Linked DNA regions of Homo sapiens: all the other regions are linked to region 2. The links are contacts of gene promoters, found by promoter capture Hi-C in blood cells and fetal thymus (Javierre and others, 2016). All regions are on one chromosome and are shown on one strand. The core of a region is centred on a gene start or on the middle of the fragment in contact, and the rest is flanking DNA. Distances in the headings are between cores, read along the strand shown.

The links. The method cuts DNA at HindIII sites, captures the fragments that hold promoters and counts their contacts. A CHiCAGO score of 5 or more calls a contact.
Region 1: a contact is called between a fragment that was not itself captured here and the fragment with the promoter of TMEM163 in region 2, in 4 of 17 cell types (megakaryocytes, naive CD4 T cells, naive CD8 T cells and 1 more). The highest score is 7.7, in megakaryocytes.
Region 3: a contact is called between a fragment that was not itself captured here and the fragment with the promoter of TMEM163 in region 2, in 1 of 17 cell types (megakaryocytes). The highest score is 8.2, in megakaryocytes.
Region 4: a contact is called between a fragment that was not itself captured here and the fragment with the promoter of TMEM163 in region 2, in 2 of 17 cell types (megakaryocytes and M0 macrophages). The highest score is 6.8, in megakaryocytes.
Region 5: a contact is called between a fragment that was not itself captured here and the fragment with the promoter of TMEM163 in region 2, in 2 of 17 cell types (megakaryocytes and naive CD4 T cells). The highest score is 6.1, in megakaryocytes.

What each region holds. Positions count from the first base shown.
Region 1 is chr2:134,581,376-134,586,143 of GRCh38, forward strand. All of the region lies in intron 2 of TMEM163 (transmembrane protein 163), which reads right to left. Among named protein-coding and RNA genes, the nearest start is that of TMEM163, 140 kb to the right of the region's middle. RefSeq lists an enhancer at 2,378-2,427. The HindIII fragment of the contact is 2,227 bases long and covers 1,210-3,436 here.
Region 2 is chr2:134,716,991-134,721,488 of GRCh38, forward strand. It overlaps TMEM163 (transmembrane protein 163), which reads right to left and starts at 2,010. Exons shown (of 8, transcript NM_030923.5): 1 at 1,744-2,010. The coding sequence starts at 1,945. LOC105373629 (a long non-coding RNA gene) reads left to right here and starts at 1,122. Exons shown (of 2, transcript XR_923354.4): 1 at 1,122-1,577. RefSeq lists a silencer at 2,094-2,333 and an enhancer at 4,036-4,498. The HindIII fragment of the contact is 5,110 bases long and covers 1-4,183 here.
Region 3 is chr2:134,471,164-134,475,425 of GRCh38, forward strand. The region is part of intron 5 of TMEM163 (transmembrane protein 163); the gene reads right to left. Among named protein-coding and RNA genes, the nearest start is that of MGAT5, 220 kb to the left of the region's middle. The HindIII fragment of the contact is 7,682 bases long and covers 1-4,262 here.
Region 4 is chr2:134,901,567-134,906,068 of GRCh38, forward strand. All of the region lies in intron 1 of CCNT2-AS1 (CCNT2 antisense RNA 1), which reads right to left. It overlaps ACMSD (aminocarboxymuconate semialdehyde decarboxylase), which reads left to right. Exons shown (of 10, transcript NM_138326.3): 10 at 232-468. The coding sequence ends at 294. Among named protein-coding and RNA genes, the nearest start is that of CCNT2-AS1, 15 kb to the right of the region's middle. The HindIII fragment of the contact is 5,293 bases long and covers 1-4,502 here.
Region 5 is chr2:134,561,902-134,566,162 of GRCh38, forward strand. All of the region lies in intron 2 of TMEM163 (transmembrane protein 163), which reads right to left. Among named protein-coding and RNA genes, the nearest start is that of TMEM163, 150 kb to the right of the region's middle. The HindIII fragment of the contact is 1,654 bases long and covers 1,147-2,800 here.

The sequences.
Region 1 (4,768 bases), core at 1,073-3,572, 140 kb before region 2:
ACATGCAAATAGCCTTAGCAACACATCATGCTTATCTCTTTCAGAACATATCTAAAATTCTCCACTTTACTTTGGTGAGAGAAATTGAATGTCAACATTTATGTTCATTCCAGAACTGGGTCCACTTCCTTCCAAATGTAAAATAGCAGCTGCCACCCCACTCTGGCTGCATTGCTGCACTGCCCTTCCCCCAAACAAACCACCAGCAATTCCCCCACTTACAGGAGCTGGGAACATTCTTCATGCTCTTTATGGGGGCGGGGGGGAGATGAATTTTATGAGGTTGATGAGAAAACAAGTTCAAAAGTCAAGTCAGCTCATTTTGAGGGGAGGATCTCCTACCTTTAGTTTCCCCATACTTTCCCCTTGCCCATGTCAGCATATGCATATACACATGTACAATAATGATACCAGAGTGACCAAAGAACACAACTTTACAAGAAGCAGCAGAACCAAAAAGGCAACTACCCTTCCATCTCCCTCCTGCCCTTGAACCACTGATTCTCCATGTTAAATATTCCATCGTTCAAAATATGGCTACACATATTGAAGACTTTGTCCTTCCTAACGGTGTCATAAAGCTGAAGGGTTTCCTTGTCACCATGAGTGCGCATAGAAGTATCAACAGCACTGCAACCAGCACTGCTTGGGTTCACACACACGGCAGAGAACCATGAGAGAGCACAAGGTATGCAAGAGTTTAAAACTTTCAGTTTCCTAGAAACCACAGTCATGTCAAAAAGGGAAGACAAGAAGATCGCCATGTGCTATGGGAAGATGCCTAATTAGAAAGGAACTAAAAGAGAGGACAAAGGCTGGGAAGGGGAGTAAGTTTTGCAAAATTGTTTTCTCATCAACTTCAAAAAAGGCAACCCAAATCCCCCAAAGAGCATAAGGAATGTTCCCAGCTCCTGTAGGTGGGGGAAGGTCAGTATGGTAGGTGCACCTAATAGCAATAACTTAAGAAATGACAGCTGCCATGCGGGGGCCGCTGCTAAGTGCAAGTGCTCTACAAACCGCACGCTTTTTGCAAGAGGTTGCAGTTCTCCTGTCCAGTCTGCCACCTTTGGACTGTTCCTGCATGTAAGTTCTCACAAATAAAACCCCATATCTCATTTGCTGGCTCTGGGTCTCTTCTCTGGACTCTTGAACCTAGTGCCGTCCCTGTTGAAGTTAACTGGAGTCTGACAAGACAAAAATTCACGTCAAAGCTTCACTCAGACTAATCAGAAACCCAAGCCCAAGCTGGTGCATGGTGGTGCTAGGTCCTGCCATGTGATTCTCATGACTTGCATACAGCCACTCAGTCATCATAAGTGCTGTCTCTGAAACAAGGAAGAAAAAAATAATCATGTCTCAAGCTGATGCTTTAGTTTTGGCAACAGTGAGTCACTGGCAGGTGAGGAAGAGGAAGTGGTGATATCTCATGTGGGGGCTGGGGGTCGCCTCCATCCTGAGAGGAGGAAAGGTAGGGGGCAGAAAAATGGCTTCTGGGTCCAAGGGGCCTAAATTCCCTTCTACCTGCAAAAGTAGAGAAGAATCCACTGGCTTGAACACACTCCACATATATGCTAAGAGATCTCTACTCTGGGACCATTCTTCCTATAAAAATGGCACTAAAACATATTTCTCTATTTTAACAGGCATCTCTGTGCAATGATTATTTGGATTTTAAAAAAATATGAGAAGAACTTCATTTCTGCTTAGTCCTGTGGACAGAGAACGGTGGAGCTTCACCAGAAAGCTCCTCTCAGCACAGCAGTCACAGCACCAACTTTGGAATCCAGCTACCCAGATTTGAATCCTCATCCCACGCTGGCAAGCCACATAAAATTGGACAATTTATTTAATGTCTTTGTGCCTTGGTTTCCTTCCCCACAAAATGGGAGTTCTACCTAATGGAGTTGCTCTGTATCAAGAGAGCTGACACATGGACACATTTAGACCCACAGCAAGTGCTTACTGGCATGTAAGTTTCTAATAAATAGTTCGCATCATTATTACCTTCTGGGCGCTTTGTATTTGTCACTTACAGTGATAAAAATTTCAGACGGCAATCTAAGAAGAGGCTCCTAGAGTTCGAAGAAACAAAAGCAATAAAACCAAGTTCAGCACCATGACACTTCTCACTCAAACCCCATGGAGAAGGCCACGACCCCTAGAAATGGGAGGCCGTTTGATCTACAATCGAGAAAGAACTCAAGGGCCAATAACGAAACTGAAGGCAATGGAGTTCTCGGAAAAGGGGTTCACCACATCCATGCAGCTACTGTCAGCCATGCTGTAAAACCACTAACAGATCTTTCATAGCCTAGCACTCACGCACCATCACTCCCAGTGACCTCATGGTCCCCTCCCCTCCCCTACATCTGCTCCAGCCACACTGTCTGCCTGCCCCCTATGAGATGCCCCCTGCTCTCAGGCCCATGGCTTGCTCTCTGCTCCCTCAATCCCTCCCATCTTTGTAGCTTTCTCAGGGAGGCTTTTTCTGACCACATTATTGAACGCATAACTGCTATTCCTGTCCTCCTCCATCCCCTTTCTGGCTTCATTTTTCTCCATAGCATCCCTCACAATCTAATATGTATTTTATTTCTCACTCCCTGAGGCAGGAATTTCTGACCATTTGTTCACTGCTCCATCTCCAGGGCCTAGAGCAGCACCTGGCTCCTAGTAGTGCTGAATAGATGGGCTACAAAATCTCTGCACAGGAAATGCAGACTATTGCTTGGCAGATGTAAAGGTTAAATGATAAAGCAAGCACATCACTAAGCTCTCCTTGCCCTGCTCCAGGATAAAGTCATATTTTGGATGCCCTAATTGATATCCAAGTATAATTTCTCAACTGCTGCCAGCAGCAGAACTAAGGAACAATGAAAAACCTTGAAATGAAGAACATAAACAGATCACGCTGCCAAGAGACGGCTGCATCAGGGAAGGGCAGCAGCCTCTAGCAAAAACCACAGACTCACTGCCCAGCCATGGTGTCTGAAGCAACATCCACAAAAGCATGTGTGCACTAAGATCCTACAAGGCAGAGGTCATGGAATGAATGTCCAGAGATCATTATGTAGGATAGCCAGGTGGCCTATATGCCTGCTCTATGGTCACCCATGTGAAAAATCACAGGTGAAAAACCCCTCCCCATTAACTAAGTTCCAGGCAAGGCACAATCCTCAATGTTTGTTTGGAAGATAAAGTACCCAGAAACGTAAGTTTCTTGACCATTGCATTTTAGAAGACCTCTCTGAAATTTCTAGTAAAAAAAAAAAAAAAAAAGTACAAAGGCATGTGATAAAGACTCGAGACTCTTGCTAAAGAAATAAGAGAGTCTGGGTGGCCAGAGAGTCTGGGTGGCAACTTTTACCGGATTCAGACACAAATGTTCATTCAAATTATCTATAATGTGAAAGTATCCACAATGTGCCAGGTACTAAGCTTAGCATGTAAACTTAGAGTAGTATTTCCATTTCTAGCTAAGGAACATGAGGCTCACCAAAGGCAATGACTTGTCCAGAATCAAAGAGCTGGTAAGCAGCAGAGTCCAATGCCCAGCTCCAGACCCAGCACCAGTGACCTGCCAACTACTCCACAGACACTTCAGGGACAGGACACTTCATGGATGCCTGGGTATTCTTCATATAGAACTTGAGAGGCCCCTAAACTGTGAGCTCTGCCTGCAGACATTTCATTCTCTTATAACTATGTCACATGTAGAGATCTTTATTAAATCTAACCATCACATTTCAACCCCACCTGGAAACAGGGACAGAAAGAGATGGCAACCTCGTCCTCTTTTTTCTTTTTTAGAGACAGGGTCTCACTGTGTTGTCCAAGCCAGATTCAAACTCCTGGGCTCAAGTGATCCTCCCACCTCAGCCTCCTGAGTAGCTGGGACTATGGGACTACAGGCACAGAGTCTGGCTACCTCACACTCTGGACCTAATAGATTCTCAAGTGATGGCTGCAAATAGAACCATCTAGTAAAACCTTTAGGCAAGTTATTTAATCTCTCTGTTCCTCCATTTCCTCTTAGAGGGTTGTTGTGAGAATCAAATGAGTTAATACATTAAAAATACCTGGAATGGCCGAGTGGGGTGGCTCACGCCTGTAATCCAGCACTTTGGGAGGCCGAGGCGGGCAGATTACGAGGTCAAGAGATAGAGACCATCCTGGCTAACACAGTGAAACCCCGTCTCTACTAAAAATACAAAAAATTAGCCGGGCGCGGTGGCGGGCACCTGTAGTCCCAGCTACTAGGGAGGCTGAAGCAGGAGGATGGCGTGAACCCGGGAGGCGGAGCTTGCAGTGAGTCTAGATCGCGCCACTGCACTCCAGCCTGGGCGACAGAGCGAGACTCCGTCTCAAAAAAAAAAAAAATACCTGGAAGAGTGCCTGGCACAGAGTCCATGCTCAATGAATGTTAGCTGTTATTATCAATATTTCTTATAAACATAAAGCAAAATTGGAATATTTAATTAACAAATAGTCATGTGAAGAACCAGTTGCTTCTTCAAATATTTATTAAATATAAAAGCCAACATTTTAGTATAAATGCCTTATAGTATATGTTCCTCCCAGGGAAGATTTTTGTGCATGGACTTAAGACTTTTTGAAAGAAGAGCCCAACAAAGTCTGGAATGAAGAGCAAGCAAGGCTCTAAGGACCACAAAACAGTGTTCAAAGTTTGGGTCATCAATTCTAAGATGTTTTACAGTTGAGTCAAGATACATATATGACACTGAAATTCTTCGGATGGCACCTGTTG
Region 2 (4,498 bases), core at 760-3,259:
AATGCTTTCATGCTATCATATAATGGAAAATGAAATTCCGTTGACCAGAGAAAAATAACCTTAAGAATGAATTCAGAAGGGCTTTTTACACTTGAACATGAACTACAAAATGATGCTAAATATGAACTCACCCTAGCACTGTCTTCCCTCCTATCATTTTGTGGGGTAGGGAGAAACAGGCCAGCTCTTAGAGATGACCTGCAATGCTACAAAAATAAGCTCAACCCAGGCTTCTGTCTTTCTTCAATATGGAATTTTTAAATCCTACGATATTAGCTGGAGAGGGGCAAAGGTAATGAACACATCCTATAATAAAAGTGAGAGGTTTTGTTCCATGCTCGTGATGTCCCCTGTCCTCACCTCTTAAATGGCATCTAGTTATGTGAGAACAGGGGGAGAAACTGCAACAGAGGTGCAGAATTCGTTGCCACTGGAGCAGCTCCAGTTCTCGCTGAGCATCTAGGCGGATTCTCTGGGAACTGCCGTTTCCATGTCATTTTATTTCACATGCTACAGTTTAGAATTTCTAAGGAGAAAGAGATCGTGCATCCGAACACTAAACCGGAATAAAAATGTACAGGAGATACTAAGAATAGGACAGAAACCTGCTAAGTCTAAAATATATAAACCCGCCATAGCCAACAAAATAAGGCTTCCAAGAAAAGGGGGTGGAGGTGCAAAAGAGCCGGCTTCCCCTAAAGGGCCTGGCTGCAAGAATCCCTCTTTGGCCACTAAACGGTTTTAGCAGAACCACAGATTCGTTCTGAGGGGGACAATTTGGATTCGGATTCAGCAAGAAGTAGAAAAGGTGCAGACGCGGCCAAGAACAGGGCTCCCTCTGCAAAGAATCCAAGCCCAAAGGAAACGCGGAAGGGATGGAGAAGAGAGACGCGGGAACGAGCAGGGAGTCTCTCCCGTCCTACACTGGCGACTCAAGGGGGCATCGGCAGTCGGTGGGAGGCAGAGTGTGGTCTCCCAGCAGAGGCAAGTGTGCTGACCTCCAGGCCAGTGTCAGTGGAGGGGAGCTCTGAAGGGTCTGCAGACGCGCCCTCCGGAAACATCAGGTTTCAGTGGCATCCATCCAGATGAGGTTGGTGGCCCAAATCCAAATGTCCCATTCCTCTGCCCCATCATGAGACGACGGGGCAGGGACCCACTGTGACCCGCGTCCGCGATTAGAATCGGGGACTGCCCGAGACCAGAGGCCGCCCGAGTCCCGGCTCGCTCCCCTCCTTGCGCCCTTCGCCGGGGCGGGCAGCCGGGCGGCCGCCGAGGGACATCTCGCGGCTACACCCGCAGAGGGAAGTTCTCCCAGGCAGCCGGCGGAGCCGCAGGGGACTACGGAAAGGAGGATGCAACGAGCCTGGGTCCCTCCGAGCTGAGTAGGGCCCGGAGTGGCCCAGAAGCGCTCGACTCCGAACGCAAAAAATGCCTCCCGCAAACTTTTCCCGTGGGCGCCGGAGGGCCTGGAGCTGGCGGAGAGGAGGGCGCGAGTCCAGGCGGGGTCGGCCTGAAGGCAGCTGGGGTCTGGGCTTCGAGGGAAGGAACCGCAGCCGAGGCGGTGCCGGCCGCAGAAGGTGGGGCTGCCGCTCTCGGCTAGCGGCGTTCTCGCCGGGAAGTCGGGGCTCCGCGCCCCCGCGCGCTCCGAGCCCCGCGCCTCGCCCAGCGCGGCCCGCGAGTGGGGAGAGGCGGGCCCCGAGCAGCCACCCCGGTCGCCGGCCGGGTCGGGCAGCTCGCGCTCACCTCGGTCCTCCAGCCCGTCGCTGAACTGGCCGCTCTCGCTGATCCGCACCTGCCGCTCCTCCTCCAGCTGGGGCGGCTCGCGCACCGGGGAGCTCAGCGGGGCCGGGCCGGGGGCGGCAGCCGGTGGCGCGTGGCCCCGGGGCGGCGGCGGGACGGTGGGCCCCTGGGAGCTGCGGCGCTGGATGCCCGCGGCCGGCTCCATGGCGCGGGGCTGCGGATCCCGGCGGCGGCGACGACAAGCGCGGCGGGGACTCGAGTCAGAAGTGCGAGGCGCCGCGGCTCTGGCGGGGGCAGGAGCGGACGGACTGGCCGCGTGGACAGGGAGGGAGGGCGGGCGGGCGCCGCGGAGTGGAGGTGCACGGGCGGGGGCGGGGACGAGCGGAGAGCCGCTCGGCTCCGCGGCCGGTGGCGGAGGCTGGGGCCGCGTTGTTGCCGCCGCGCTCCGCCCCTGGGGGCAGGTGCGGGCGGCAGGGACCCGCCCCAAGGCCCGGGCGCGGGAGCCGGCGCACCGAGGCGGACGAGAGGGAGGAACCAGCGTGAGGACCCACAGGCGGCCCTGGCAGAGCTTGGCTAGGGCGTAGCGGGGACCCGCCCCACCTGCGCCGCGGGATGGTGCCCAGAGGGGACCCCTCCCACTGGATTCCTCTGGGGTCCGCGAAGCCCGCGGCCGCGCGTGGGTAGCAGACAGCGCCCCTAATTTGGCATCTTTCTCTTCTGGAGCTGCACAGGCTTCAGAGGCTGTACAGGGTCTTCGCCTGGGCCTCCATTCTCACTGCTCATCCAGGGAAAAAGGGTTCATCTGTCCCCAAGCCCGTCGCTCTCCGTCCTTCTCGGAGCTTTAACTCCCCTCCCAGTTTCTCCCTGGAGCACCCATTTAGCCAGGGATGGGGTATCTTTAGGACAGCGGGCGCTATAGAAGATGCTTGAACTCCGAGGCTTCCCCATTTCGACTCTTCCTGGGCCTTTGTCCCATACAGTTCGCTCCCCTGCTCATCTAAGTCTTGTGTGATCTTCAGAAATCCATGGAAGCCTCCCTTCTACGAGAAGTCTCCCCTACTCTGACCCCTGCAGCTCTTAATTCATTTTGTGCGGTGGGGCTGATCTCACCAGTGAGAGTCCACCGCAGGGCACACGCCAGCTCTCTTGATGCCCAGAGAGGAGCAAAAGAGGACCTGCTGTTTAATAAATTCAGCTTGGATTTGTTGAGGCTCAGAAAAGTATACCCCAACGTATGGCACTTTGGTATGCTAAGTTTGAACTAAAAAACTAAACAGGCCTCTGAAGCCGCCTTAGAAACAAAGTCTGTCTCCCCCCCGACTTTCTCCCCACTAAGCAGTTCACAGAAACCAGAATTCCTCTTCCCTACGGTGGTCATACAACCTAGAAATAGTACTCCAACCTCCCTGGTCCTCTGCCTTTCTGTGTAGGAGCTGGCCATGAAGAAATACTCAGACCTACCTTGTCTGATAGTAGATCCTGAGACCCTCATTCCAGAAGAGGTCCTGCTCTATACATGCTGCACAGAGAGGCCAAGAAGAATCTGAACAGGCCTCGCTGGGTTCAACCCTCAGTCTATTACCATTAGATCACACCCTTTGTCCAATCACATTTCTATAAGGCTGTCCATTCTTCACTGAATCTAAGCATAAAAACAGGCAGTTTTCCCTGAGTCTTTGCATCTTCATTTCTGAAGGCTCCTGTATCACATAAAACTTTGATTCAATAAATTTGTTACGCTTTTCTCTTATTAGCCTATCTTTTGTTATAAGCATGTTTGCCGTGCCCCTTATGATGGGGAGGAAAGTATCACACCTTTTCTGCCCCTACCGTTTCAATGGTATCAACATCCAAGCTCTAGAGTCCGGCTTTCGTCTTTAGATTGATTCAGTCTCTGAATTTAATCCGGGTACTCCAAAATGTCAATTCCTCATTTAAAGGAGTCCTCCTCGTTTCTTGAAGAGTCACCCTTTTCCTTTTTCTTGTCTGCTTTGCTTGTGATTGAAATGAGAGTAGGATTTAAATGCCTTTGTGGTGCACTGGAAATATCACCAGAAATGGGGAGAGGGGTCTTACTTTATTTTGTTGCTGCTGTTATTATTGTTGTTGCTGGATTGGAATGAGAAGATCTGAGTTGACCTTGACCAACTTACTTTACCTTGTTGACCACTAATTTCTTCAACTACAAATTGAAAGAGTTGAACTACGTCATTTCAAAGATCCCTTCCTGCTGCAAAGAAAAAGAAAAATGCTATGATTACTTGGATAAAGACAATGAAAATCTCTACCCATTAATCCTGGTTCTATCCTCTAAGGTAGAACATCCTTCAGATATATTTGCAGAGTCATCTCCTCCACTTTTTTCCTCCAGTCTATCCCATTTAATCCCCCTGTCAATGGCTCTCAAAGTATCACCTGGGGAGTCTAAGAACAAAAATACCGAAGCTTCGACTGCTAGAGATTCTGATATCATATTTAACGTGATCGTTCTTGGCTGGGACCTTGGCATGGGTATTTTGTAAGGCACTTCCCCATTCTAAGAGTCATCTGGGGGCTTAAAAAAAATTGGCTGGGCGTGGTGGCTCACGCTTGTAATCCCAGCACTTTGGGAGGCCAAGGTGGGCAGATCACAAGGTCAGGAGATCGAGACCATCCTGGCTAACATGGTGAAACCCCGTCTCTACTAAAAATACAGAAAATTAGCCGGGCGTGGTGGCAGGTGCCTGTAGTCCCGGCTACTCAGGAGGCTGAGGCAGGA
Region 3 (4,262 bases), core at 543-3,042, 250 kb before region 2:
TCTACCTAATAAAACTATGTTTAAAAAGACATCAGTCCCTGTTATGGACTAGATGTCTGTGTTCCTACAAAATTCATATGTTGAAGCCCTAACCCCAATGTGATAGTATTTGGAGAGGGGGCCTTTGAAAGATAATTAGGGTTAGATTAGGTCATAGGGGGACCTCATAATGAGACTAGTACCCTTATAAGAAAACAGAAGATCTTTTTCCCCACCACCGACGTGCACCAAGGAAAGGCCACATGAGGACACATGAGGACACAGTGAGAAGGCAGCCATCTGTAACCCAAGGAAGGATCCCTCACCAGATGCTGACTCTGCTGGCACATTCATTGTGGACTTCAGTCTCCAGAACTGTGAAGATGAAATTCCTGTTTTTTAAGCCACCTAGTCTACGACATTTGTCTTTGGCACCCCAAGCTAAGACAGTCTCTAAGTTTAATAAAAGGAAGTTTCTGAGAAGATTCCTTTCAGAGAGTCAGGAAGCCACAGCAGACATGGAGACATGGCTGATGATGAGAAACCATAACACGTGTAGGCTGTTCCACCACTGACTCCTCTCAAGGTGCGGCCGCACCTACCATGCCACTGAATTCTCAGCACTGTCAGAGTGGGCGTCTGACAGATGCATAAACAGTTGGAGAGAGGCTAAATGACTTTCCCAGGGTCACTCTGCAGTGGCAGGACCTGGAATTGTTCCCAGCTGTAAACTCTACCAGGTTGCCTCATCTAAGGCCTTATCATCATCTCTCATGTCCCTCAACAGTGGACTCCGTGAAAACAGCAACAGCGATTTCCTTGCTGGGCATTCAGTTCCTGCTGTTACCAGCACTGTGTCTCTATAATTTCTCACAGTTGAATCTTCACTGATTGATGGAAGATTATGACAAAAAGGTTTAAGGAAATTAGCCACTCATTCAAAGCCAAGTATAAATGTACATTAAAGGTAAACTCCACATAAATTTTGTCCATGCTGGCAAGCTCCTTCAACATCTTGTAGTAGCAAAGCCATAAAAGATTGATATACTTGACTAGAGAGAAGTTAAGACATATTCAGGGGAAAGATCAAATACAAACTAGGAAAAGGGTTATCACAAAGGGTTAATCTCCTTACTATAGAAAGGGCTCATGGAAATCTAGAGGAAAAAGACCAACAAAGAGAAAATGGACAAAGATATATGTGAGAGACAGTTAAAAATAACATAAATTTTAAACATATGAAAAAGGCTCAAATGCTCATAAAAGAAATGAAAGCCAAAACTATAGTAAGATCCTTTTTATCTAACCAAAAATATTACAAGGCTATGAGAAAACAGTCTCTCATACAATTCTGGTGGCAGTGCAAAATGGTCCAACCTGTACAGAGAACAATTTGACAATTTCTCTGAAAAGTACACATCTACCCTTTGAGCAAGCCACCCACTTATGTGAATTTATCTTACTGCTATACCTGTACATGTATGCAAATGACGGCACATATGGGCCATTCATTACAGCAATGAAAACACTTTTACATAACTGATAGAACAAACTAACAGAAAGTCAGTAAACAGAAGACTTCAACAACATGATCAACCAGCTTTGCCTGACATTTACGGAACATCTACCCTACAAAGGCAGGACACACATTCTTTTTAAATGTAATATTAATGTAGATCACATTCTATGCCATTAAAAAGATGTCAACCAATTAAAAAACTGAATTATACAAGGCATATTCTCTGACAATGGGATTAAACTAGAAATCAGTAACAGGATGATATCTAGAATATTCTAGTATTTGGAAACTAAACAATAAAACAACCCACTTCTTAAAAACTCATGAATCAAAGAATAAGTCACCAGGGAAATTACAATATATTTTGAAGTGAAATAAAGTAGAACAACAGTATACTGAAATTAGTGGTATGCAGCAAAAGCAGAGCTAAGAGGAAAATTTATAGTAAATAATGTACTTAAAAATGTTTAAAAGGCCTAATATCAATGATCTGAGCTTTGCCTTTAAGAAAAAATTAAAAGAAAATCAAATTAATCCCAAAGTAAGGAGAAGGAAAGAAATAATAAACTTATGAGCAGAAATCAATGAGACAGACCAGGTGCGGTGGCTCACAACTGTAATCCCAGGACTTTGGGAGTCCGAGGCAGGTGGATCACTTGAGGTCAGGAGTTCGAGACCAGCCTGACCAACATGGGGAAACCCTGTCTCTACTAAAAATACAAAATTAGCTGGGTGTGGTGCCTCACACCTGTAATCCCAGCTACATGAGAGGCTGAGGCAGGAGAATCACTTGAACCAGGGAGGCAGAGGTTGCAGTGACCCAAGATCACACCATTGCACTCTAGCCTGTGCAACAAGAGTGAAACTCTGTCTCAAAAAAAAAAAAAAGAAAAAGAAACCAATGAGACAGAAAATGAATAAACAGTAGAGAAGAATCAATAAAACCAAAGACCTTGATAAAGATCAGTAATGTAGGATAAACCTCCAGGACTCATCTAGAAGAAAGAGGACACATGTTACCAATATCAGGAATGAGAGAAGGTACATCACTACAGATCCAACAGGATCTATTAAGAAGATAACAAGGAGATATAACCAACTTGATGCCAATAAATTTGACAACTTAGAAGAAATAGACAAATCAAACGTCATCCAAGAAGTAGATAACCTGAAGAACCCTGTATCAACCGAAGACCTTGAAACTGTAGTGAAAATCCTTCTCACAAAACTTCAGGCCCCAATGCTTTTACTGGCAAATCTGCCAAACATTTAATCATTTAAAGGAGAAATAACCAATTCTAAAACATCTCTTTCAGAAAAAAAAAGATAAAGAAGAAACACTTCCCAATTTATTTCTGAGGCCAGCATTACCATGACACTAAAAGCAGAAGCATCACAAGAAAACTACAGACCAATAGCTCTCATGAATCAGACTTAAAAGTCCTCAACAAAGTATCAGCAACACAAATTCAGCAATATATAAAAAGGATAATACAACATGACCAAACGGGGTTTATCCTGGGGAACCAATATTGATTAAACATTCAAATATCAATCAAAGCAATTTCCCATATTGACAGAACAAAAAGAAAGCCCATATAATCATCTCAATAGATGCAGAAAAAGCATTTGATGTGTCAAATGTGTCACTACCCACTCATGGAGAAGGGAAGGAGAAACAGAGGAAGCCAAAGACTTCTCAGCACTCTAGGAATGGAAAGGAATTTCCTCAACCTGATAAATGGTATCTAGGAAAAACCTACAACTAATATCAACCAACGGTGAAAAAATGAATGTTACTCCTAAGATCAGGAAAAAGGCAAGGACATCTACTTTCATTACTTCCATTTGACTCTGATTAGGAGGGAATAGCCAGTATACAGATAGAAAAGAAAGAAGTAAAGCCATTTTTATTTACAGACTACATAATTTTCTATTTTGAAAACCCTCACTAATTTACCATTCCTCCCACACACAAAACATACTTATTAGAACTATAAGTGAGTTTAATAAGACCACATACCAAGTTAGCAAGTAAAACTCAACTGTATTTCTGTACACTAGCTAGAAATATGGAGTTTTTGGAAATACTATTTAAAGTAGCACAAAAATACTAAATACTCAGTGATAAATTTTACATGTAAGACCTGTGCACTGAAAACTACAAAATATTACGGAGATAAATTAAAAGATTTTAGTACATGGAAAGATATACTGTGTTCAATTATTATTAAAACGTTAGTTCTCCCCAAACCGATCTGGATGCAAAAGCCACCCTAAGCCAAATCCCAGCAGGCTTTTTTAAAGAAATAAAAATGGACAAGTTGATTTTAAAAGTTATGTGTAAATGAAAGGGCTTACAATAAGTAAAGTGATTTTGAAAAAGAACAAGTTTCAAAGGTTTACACAAGGCCTTTCCTTATTTGATTTATGAAATAAGTCATTTCCAAACTGATTTATTATGAAGCTATTGTAATCAAGAAGTAATACTGTCATAAAGCCAGACAGACATACAGATCAACAGAACAAAATAGCCTAGAAATCATCCCACTCTCAGATATAGTCATTTAGTTTTAGACAAAAGCACAAAAGCAATCCAGTGGAAAATGTAAAGTCTTTACAACTAACAGCACTAGAACAATTGGATATGTGTACAGAAAGAAATAAATCCTGATCCTTATTTCACACTATATATAAATTTTAATTTTAGATGGACTGCAGATCTCAAAGTGAAGCTAAAACTGTAAAACTAAATTATGTATGA
Region 4 (4,502 bases), core at 1,187-3,686, 190 kb after region 2:
CTCCCCTTTATAAGTCTCTTCTCTCCCCCTACAATCAAGTTTCAGATTTAGATTTCAAACAGCGGGGCAAAACATAGGTCAAGAGGATTTTGGTAAGAGATTCACTGTATAACCTGCTAGTATTTTTCTCTCATATTGGGGAGCTGATTTTTTTAAACCTGATCAATGTAGTACTTAAAAGTACTTAAAAAACAACCAATAATGCTTTAAAATATTTTCTTTTCTTTTCAGAATAAACTCAAAGCCGGCAATGCCCTGGCATTTTTGGGTCTTGAGAGAAAACAATTTGAATGACTGAATTTACTACAAAGGCAAACTTTCAAAAGGATATCTCATTTTTGTTTCTAAATATGTATCAACAGGTATCAACAAAATCCTATTTTGAACTATTTTACTCAGAAATGAATGTCCCAAATATCCTAAATTATTCATAATAAAAATGATTTGTAAGTGTTTTCATTCTGAAAAGCAGTACATTATTTCATGTGCAAATAAAAAATGATTTTCCCAGTGCTCTTTTAATTAATCTGGAGAAATACAAAATAAAATGTCATTAATGATTTATATGGAGAAAGATTCATCCTAGAAGACTTAGGTAGGTTGTCCATTTTGAACAAAGATATGTGAATTGGACTCAAATAACCTGTTCCATCTGCCTTTAACACCTACCATTAGCCCAGAACTGGGCTGGGAATGCTTTAGCCTCCACAAAATAAATAACATGAATATAGGATATCCATAACCTCAGGGAGCTTCCAGACCAATTAAGGAGGTAAGAGATGTTCATGGAATAATTACTAAGCTATCAACTTTGAGTGTCAAAGAAGTTTCGTTAAGCGGAATTCACTTTGGTCTAAAACTGTGGAGCAGATCTTCACAGAGGGTGGAACATGAGAGTCCAGGAGATGAATAAGGAATTTTTAGGGTTAGAGGATGGGAAACAGGAAGGCAAAACTATGGGAACACAGCTGTGGTTTCAGACTGAATGAGACATCCATTTTAAAAGTTTTTGTCTATAAATTTACTCCTACCAGAAGCTCTTTTGATTTTAAAATACCGAGCAGAATGTATGAAGCTAACTGTGGAAAGTTAATAGGGCAATACCAGGGTAGCCTTGTTTTACCCATTTCATTTATGGTCCCACTTGGGCTGCTGAAAAGGAACTTGGTCCTGGGATGGGTGATGAAATCTATGGTTCATCTGCCTCTGGCTGAATTCCAAAATCAAGCATGGATTCATTCATTATTTTCCCTTCCATTCATCTAGAAAATCAAGAGTTGAGTATTGACATGTAATTTGTGCTGACCCCTCTCCAGAATAAAGATGAGATCTAATTCTTACTTCACTATGCTCACGCCATTATTTTCACTTTATATAGTTCATTGCCCCACCTCCTTCTCACCCCACCCCCCACCATTTCTTTCTAGGATTTTACTCACCCACCATCTGCTTATTGCTCCAATCTGCCCAAAAAGGAAAACAAAGTTGAACAAAGCAACAACATGAACCATATGTTATTTTTTCCTTCCCCAATCTTTGGGGATAAAGTCCATACCTTTTCAAATATTCTATATTTGAGCACTCTGAATACAGCATTTAATGATTGTTTTATTATAAAAAGTAACCCAATCACTTTATTCAATATCATACACACACATACACATGCAGAGTGAATGGATATATTCATATTCACATGTTTTCTATGTGCCAGGACTATAGGAATGCTCCAGGCACTGGGGGTATAGATGTAAACAAAAAAGATAAAATTCCTTTTCTGACAAAACCTACAATCTGAAGAGTGAGAAACATAAATAAGGTAAGGAAGAAGAAAAAGAGGAATAAAAGGAGGAACAGAAGGAGGAAAGAAGGAAGGAAATTTTTCTTATACTGATAAACACTATGAAGAAATTAAAACGAAAATGTGGTAGTGACTAGGAGAAAGATGGGGGGGTAAAACGTTAAATTGTAGAGTCAGAGAAGGCCTCTTTAAAGAGGACTTTCAACTGAGATTTGAATGATAGAACAGTGAAGAAAATGCAAAGGTTCTGAGGCAAGAAACCTCGTGACAAGTTTGTGAGCAAGGAAGGGAGACAGGAGAGGAAGCCAAAAAGTTGGCTAGATCAGTAGATCATGGTCAAGGGTTGAGTTTTTGTTGTTGTTGTTGTTGTTGTTGTTGTTGTTGTTTGAGGCAGAATCGTACCGTCACCAGGCTGGAATGCAGTGGCGCGATCTCGGCTCACTGCAACCTCCGACTCCCTGGTTCAAGTGATTCTCCTGCCTCAGCCTCCTGAGTAGCTAGGATTACAGGCACGTGCCACCAGGTCCAGATAATTTTTTTTTTTGAGACAGAATCTTACCCTGTCGCCAGGCTGGAATGCAGTGGCGCAATCTCGGCTCACTGCAACCTCTGACTCCCTGGTTCAAGTGATTCTTCTGCCTCAGCCTCCTGAGTAGCTAGGATTACAGGCACGCGCCACCAGGTCCAGCTAATTTTTTTTTTTAATAGAGTCGGGGTTTCACCCTGTTGGCCAGGATGGTCTCAATCTCCTGACCTCGTGATCCTCCCGCCTCAGCCTCTCAAAGTGCTGGGATTACAGGCATGAGCCACCACGCCTGCCCAAGATTTTTATCTTGTTTCATAGGAAACCACTGGAGACTTTTTAATAGGTCTGTGACATGCTCGGACTTATGTTATTCTTTTAAAACAAACAAACAAAAAATAGAAGGGTGCAGTGGCTTGCAACAGTAATCCCAACACTTTGAGAGGCTGAGGCAGGAGGATCACTTGAAGCCAGGAGACTGAGACCAGCCTGGGCAACACAGCAATCTCTACAAAAAAAAATTTTTTTTTAATTAGCTGGGTGTGGTGGCTCATTCCTATAATCTCAGCTACTCAGGAGGCTGGGATGGGAGGATGGCTTAAGCCCAGGAGTTCGAGGCTGCAGTGAGCTAGGATCATGCCACTGCACTCCAGCCTGGGTGACAGAGTGAGACCCTGTCTCAGAAAAAAGAGAGGAGAGGAGAGGAGGAAAAAAAGAAAAAAGAAACCCATATACATTAACAGCTTTGTAGAGACCTATTAAAGGGAGTCAAGAAAGGAAGTTGGAGGCTAGGCAAGAAATGATGGTGACTCAGGCATAAATACAAGAATGGGGATCATGAGATATGTTTGTAGGCAGAACCAACAGCATTTAATGATGGACTAAATGTGAGGAAGAGGGAGGAAGGGGAGGAAAGAAATCAAGGCTGACTCCTGGGCATGTGAATGTGAAGTGTGTGTACACATGTGCACACCATGCTTTTGTCAATCAGTCTCCTATATTTGGACATTTAAATAATTCCTAATGTTTTGTAATTATAAATAATACTGCAATAAAATTTGATTCATTTCCCAAATCATACATATGGATAAACTACAACTCTGATTGGATCAAAGATTTAACTCTAAAATATTAAACTATGCAGGTACTAGAAGAAAAGATGCGAGAATTCCTCTTTAATCTGGGTGTAAAGAGGGTTTTCTAACTAGGACTTTCCTGGGCACATACTCCTGGTGACATTTAAGGTTTGAGATGATTAATAGTAGTTAATGGTGTTAAATGCATCCATACTTTAAACATAGGTGCTTTGATTCCCAGGCTTTTCACTTGAACAGCTGGGTAGATTTATTACCATATACCATAATGAGGAAGACTATGGGAGAAACAGTCTTGAGAGGAAAGAGAATCAACAGTTCTGTAGTTGGACTTGTTATATTTCAGATGCCTCTTAGACATTTAAGTAGGAATGTCAAGTAAGCACTTGAGTGTTCTAGTCTGGAGAGTTCAAGAGAGAGGCTAGGGAAAAATCACCAGTGTATAAAAGGTATTTAAAGAAATGAGACTGGATGAAATCACCTGGTGAAAAAGTAGAGTAGAGACGCAAAAGACCCTAGGCCTATTTCCTGGGATTCACTAACACTTAGAAGTTAGATGAAGGCTATACAAAAATTAGCCCGGGCATGGTGGCACGTGCCTGTAATCCCAGCTAATCGGGAAGCTGAGGCAGGAGAATCACTTGAACCCGTGAGGCGGAGGTTGCAGTGAGCCGAGATCGTGCCACTGCACTCCAGCCTGGGTGACAGAGCGAGACTCTGTCTCAAAAAAAAAAAAAAAAAAGTTAGATGAAGGCACCAGCTTTGTGCACAGAAGAGTAGCCAGTGAGGTAGGAGGAAAACCAGGAAAATATACTCAGGAGTCAAGAGCAGACAATGTTTCAAGAAGTCCTAACAGCATTAGGCATACACACACACACACAAAATCAAAGCTACAATACTACGGTATTCAATAGAACCATATGCCTCAGATATAACTCAATCCCTTTATCCCAAAATTTAATTCCACTTCTTACAGTCCCAACCTGATGAATGGCATCACCCAGTCACCTAATCCTTCTCCTTCACCCGTATCAATACACCATTAAATCCAAAAGATTCAACTCATTTTATATCTTTTATTTCTTAT
Region 5 (4,261 bases), core at 724-3,223, 160 kb before region 2:
TTGCTTGCCCAACAATTTGATAAAACATACATTTTAAAGCCTTATGTTTCCCTTAATCATAGAATGCAGCTCCTTTAGCCCAGTAAGTAAAGCATTCATTAGATAAACAGAGATGGGGATAAAATTTATAGAACAGAACTTTCGCATTTTATCTTCTCTTGTCTTCTATGTTAAATACCTGTGAGGTTGCTGGGAGTTTGAAGCTTGTTTCTAGGTAAACTCATTTTCAGTCCATTCTTTTTACTTTGGCTTGGTGTCTTTTTGGGCCCCAAAGCTCCCTGCCCCTAGCTGCCTTTCTTTTATAAAACACAGAAATGCTCCTTGCCTTCTCCCAAGCAGCACACAAAAGCGTGAAGTCAAGGGTTGTATCATATTTGTCTCTATCCTCAGGGTCTGTGTGCTCAAGCACAAGTGCATTGTCAGTGCTCAAAAAATCCTTGTTAAACTGAACAAGACTGGAAGAATCTCTAACCCCCAATTATAATTTCTGGCTTTTATTTAATGTGTGACAGTCAATTCAGACCAGAACCAAAAGCTAACACTACGGGCAAGAAGAGCTAGCAAAGGCATGGATATTGTCACCCAAGGTCATCCTTGCCAGGCCACTGAGATGGCCCTTGGTCTGCACTGCTGATTCCAAACACATTGAACCTCTTTGGTTTGAAAAGTCGCTTAAGAAACATTTTAAAGAACAGAACATACTATGAAGAAGAAAAATACACTGAATAAGGGTCCAGAGATTTGGCTTAAAGAAACTATGCTGAACAAACACCAACTCATTTGATCTGAATCAAAGTCATTTGAAGATTAACGTGATCACTCAAAGAATACAAGTTAAACATGGTGGAATACAGCCCTTTTGTCCTCTCTCCTCACCACCCTGCTCCATAAAACCCAAAGCAACAAGAAACATGAAAAAACTAGAAAAAGAATAAAATGATCAAAGATCCAGAAAATGGCCAACCCCCAATAACCTAAGTTATAAAGGGAATCTACAAAATACATTAAAATTTAGACCATGCTAGGAGAAGATGCTGACAGCTGATAATATGTCTCAATCAAATCTTGGGCAGAGCTTAGACTTTTCCACAATTAGATGGCACAGTCATCAGTAATCCAAACGATTGTCCCTTATATGCAATGGCAAGCTTGGAGCTGAGCTCCAGCATCCACCCCTGGACCCTTTCCTGATATTCTACACACTAGAGAGCAAAGGCGTGAACCAAAGGAGTGCGTGCTCAGACAGACACCGATACAAGAATCAGACACCACCATTCCATCAACGAGAGGAGCCAAGGCTCCACTGCCAGCCAGGCAGTCTTCTCTTATATTCAAGGCAGGAAGATGTTCCCCAAGGTAGATCACTGAGATCAGGTGCCCCGAGAATAAGTACTCAAATTAAAGCTGCCTGCTGCTCCCTGCATGCCTGGTTCTCCACAAAGTCACAATTATTAGAGCAGTGAGGCACTGGCAAACTGGCAGACAGAATAGGGGAACTAGAAAGAATTAAGAAGTGAATTCAGCAAGGCCACCACACATTAAGTGAATACACAAATTCCAGTTATTTCTATATTAGCCACAAACGAAGGAAATGTAATTTTTAAAAGGCTCTATTCAAAACAACAAAATTATCAAATACCTAGGAAAAAACTAATGAAACTAAAAAAATATGCAAGACTTCTACCTAGAAAAGCAATGAAATATTTTAGGAGAAATTAAAGACAACTATTAAATATATGAAGAAACATACCATGTTTGTGGACTGGAAGCCTCACTGTGGCCAATTAAAATCCTAGCAGGTGGTGACAGAATTGATAAGATGAAGCCAGAGTTCATGTGGAAAGTGAAAAGAATCAGGAATAGCCAAGACAGGCCAGGCACGGTGGCTCACACCTGTAATCCCAGCACTTTGGGAGGCCAAGGCAGGTGGATCACCTAAGGTCAGGAGTTCGAGACCAACCTGACAACATGGAGAAACCCTGTATCTACTAAAAATACAAAAACCTTAGGCGTGGTGGTGGGTGTCTGTAGTCCCAGCTACTCGGGAGGCTGAGGCAGGAGAATCTCTTGAACCCGGAGGCGGAGGTTGCAGTGAGCCGAGATCATGCCACTACACTCCAGCCTGGGTGACAGAGCGAGACTCCACTGCGGCAGCAGTGGCGGTGGCAGGGTGGGCAGGGAGAATAGCCAAGACAACCGTTAACAACCACAACCAAAAAAACCTGGAAGACAGTCACTACCAGATACGAAGATTTCAAAGCTACAGTAAATAAAATGATATTAGCACAAGGATAAACAAAGAGACCACAGAACAAAAGAAGACCCACACAGATATGGTTACTTGATTTATATATTTCAAAAGTACCCCTAAAATACACGGGGGAAAGAAAGTTCTTTTCAATAAATGGTACTGGGCCAGTTGGACATCCATATGAAATGACTGAATTATGACCCTACCTTACTCCATATAGAGAAAACTGTCGATGAGCTGTAGATATAAAAGTGTAAGGTTAACATAGGAGAGGTCTGAAATAGAATATTGGCATGGAGTTTCATAATCTTGGGGAAAGGTAAAGATTTTTTAAACTAGACATAAATGCATTCATCATAAGGGAAAGGACTCGTAAACTGAACTACATTAAAGACCTCCTTCAAAGAGCAAAACAGCAAGCCATCGAGTTTATTGAGAAGATATTTATAAAACATAACTACCAGGGGACTTATATCCAGAACATATAGACTTATAAATCACTAAGAAAGAGAAATCAACCCAATAGGAAAATGGGTGAAAGACTTAACAAGCTTCATGAAAGATGATACACAAATGACCAATAAACATATGAAAATATACTCTACTTATTGGTAACCAGGGACAATAAAACTAAAACCACAGATGCCACTACATACTCAAAGTGTGACTAAAAAGTAAAAAAGCTGACAGTTTCAAACGTTAGTAAGGATGCAATACAACTGAACTCTTGAACTGCTGGTGGAAGTGTAAAACAGTACAAATACTTTTAAAAACTGGCTGCCCGTCTCTATAAAAGCTGATCAGGTCAGGTGCGGTGGTTCATGTCTGTAATCCTAGCACTTTGGGAGGCTGAGGCAGGCAGATCACATGAGGCCAGGAGTTTGAGACCAGCCTGGGCAACATAGTGAAACCTGATCTCTACTAAAAGTACAAAAATTAGCCAGGTGTGGTAGCGCGTGCCTGTAATCCCAGCTAGTCAGGTGGCTGAGGCACACGAATCGATTGAACCCAGGAGGCAGAGGTTGTAGTGATCTGAGATCACAACACTGCACTCCAGCCTGGGTGACAGAGCAAGACTGTCTCAAAAACAAAAACAAAAACAAAAGTGATCTTACTCCATGACCCAGCTATTCCATCCCTAGATATATACTCAATGGAAATACATACTTATGGCTGGGTGCAGTGGCTCATGCCTGTACTCCCAGCACTTTGGGAGGCCGAGGCAGGTGGATCACCTGAGGTCAGGAGTTCGAGACCAGCCTGGCCAACATGGTGAAACCTCGTCTCTACTGAAAATACAAAAATTAGCCAGGCGTGGTGGCAGGAGCCTGTAATCCCAGCTACTCGGGAGGCTGAGGCAGGAGAATCACTTCAACCTGGGAGGCAGAGGTTGCAGTGAGCCAAGACTGAGCCACTGCACTCCAGCCTGAGCGACTGAGGGCAAGACTCTGTCTCCAGAAAAAAAAAAAAACCATACATACATATGGATACTTGAAGATGCTTACAAAATGTTCACAGCAGTGTTATTCCTAATTGCCAAAACTGGAAACAGCACAAACATTGGTCAATAGTAGAAATGGATAAACTGGTGGTATATTCATCCAGTGAAATACAACAATGACAATACATGAATTACAGCTAATCACAACTACACGTATGCATCTCAGCAAAGGCAAACACAAAAGCACTCATTGGATAATCTATGTATGATTTGGTTTGTATAAAGTTCAAAAATAGACAAAGCAAATCCACAGTGGTAGAATTCAGGCTGGTGGTCACCTCCAGGGCAGGGAGCGGTGTCAAAGACGGGGCATGAACAGGTCTTCTCAGGTGGGAAGATGAGTGTGAGTGGTGGCTACACAGCTATGTTCACTTTGTGAAACTTCATTAAGCTATGGGATTTTCATCAATGATGCTTCTGTATGTCTATTATACTTCAATTTTTAAAAGAATACTTGCAAATCACTAAATTTTTTAAAAGCCCAAGAGCCTAAAAGATAAGGCAAGAAA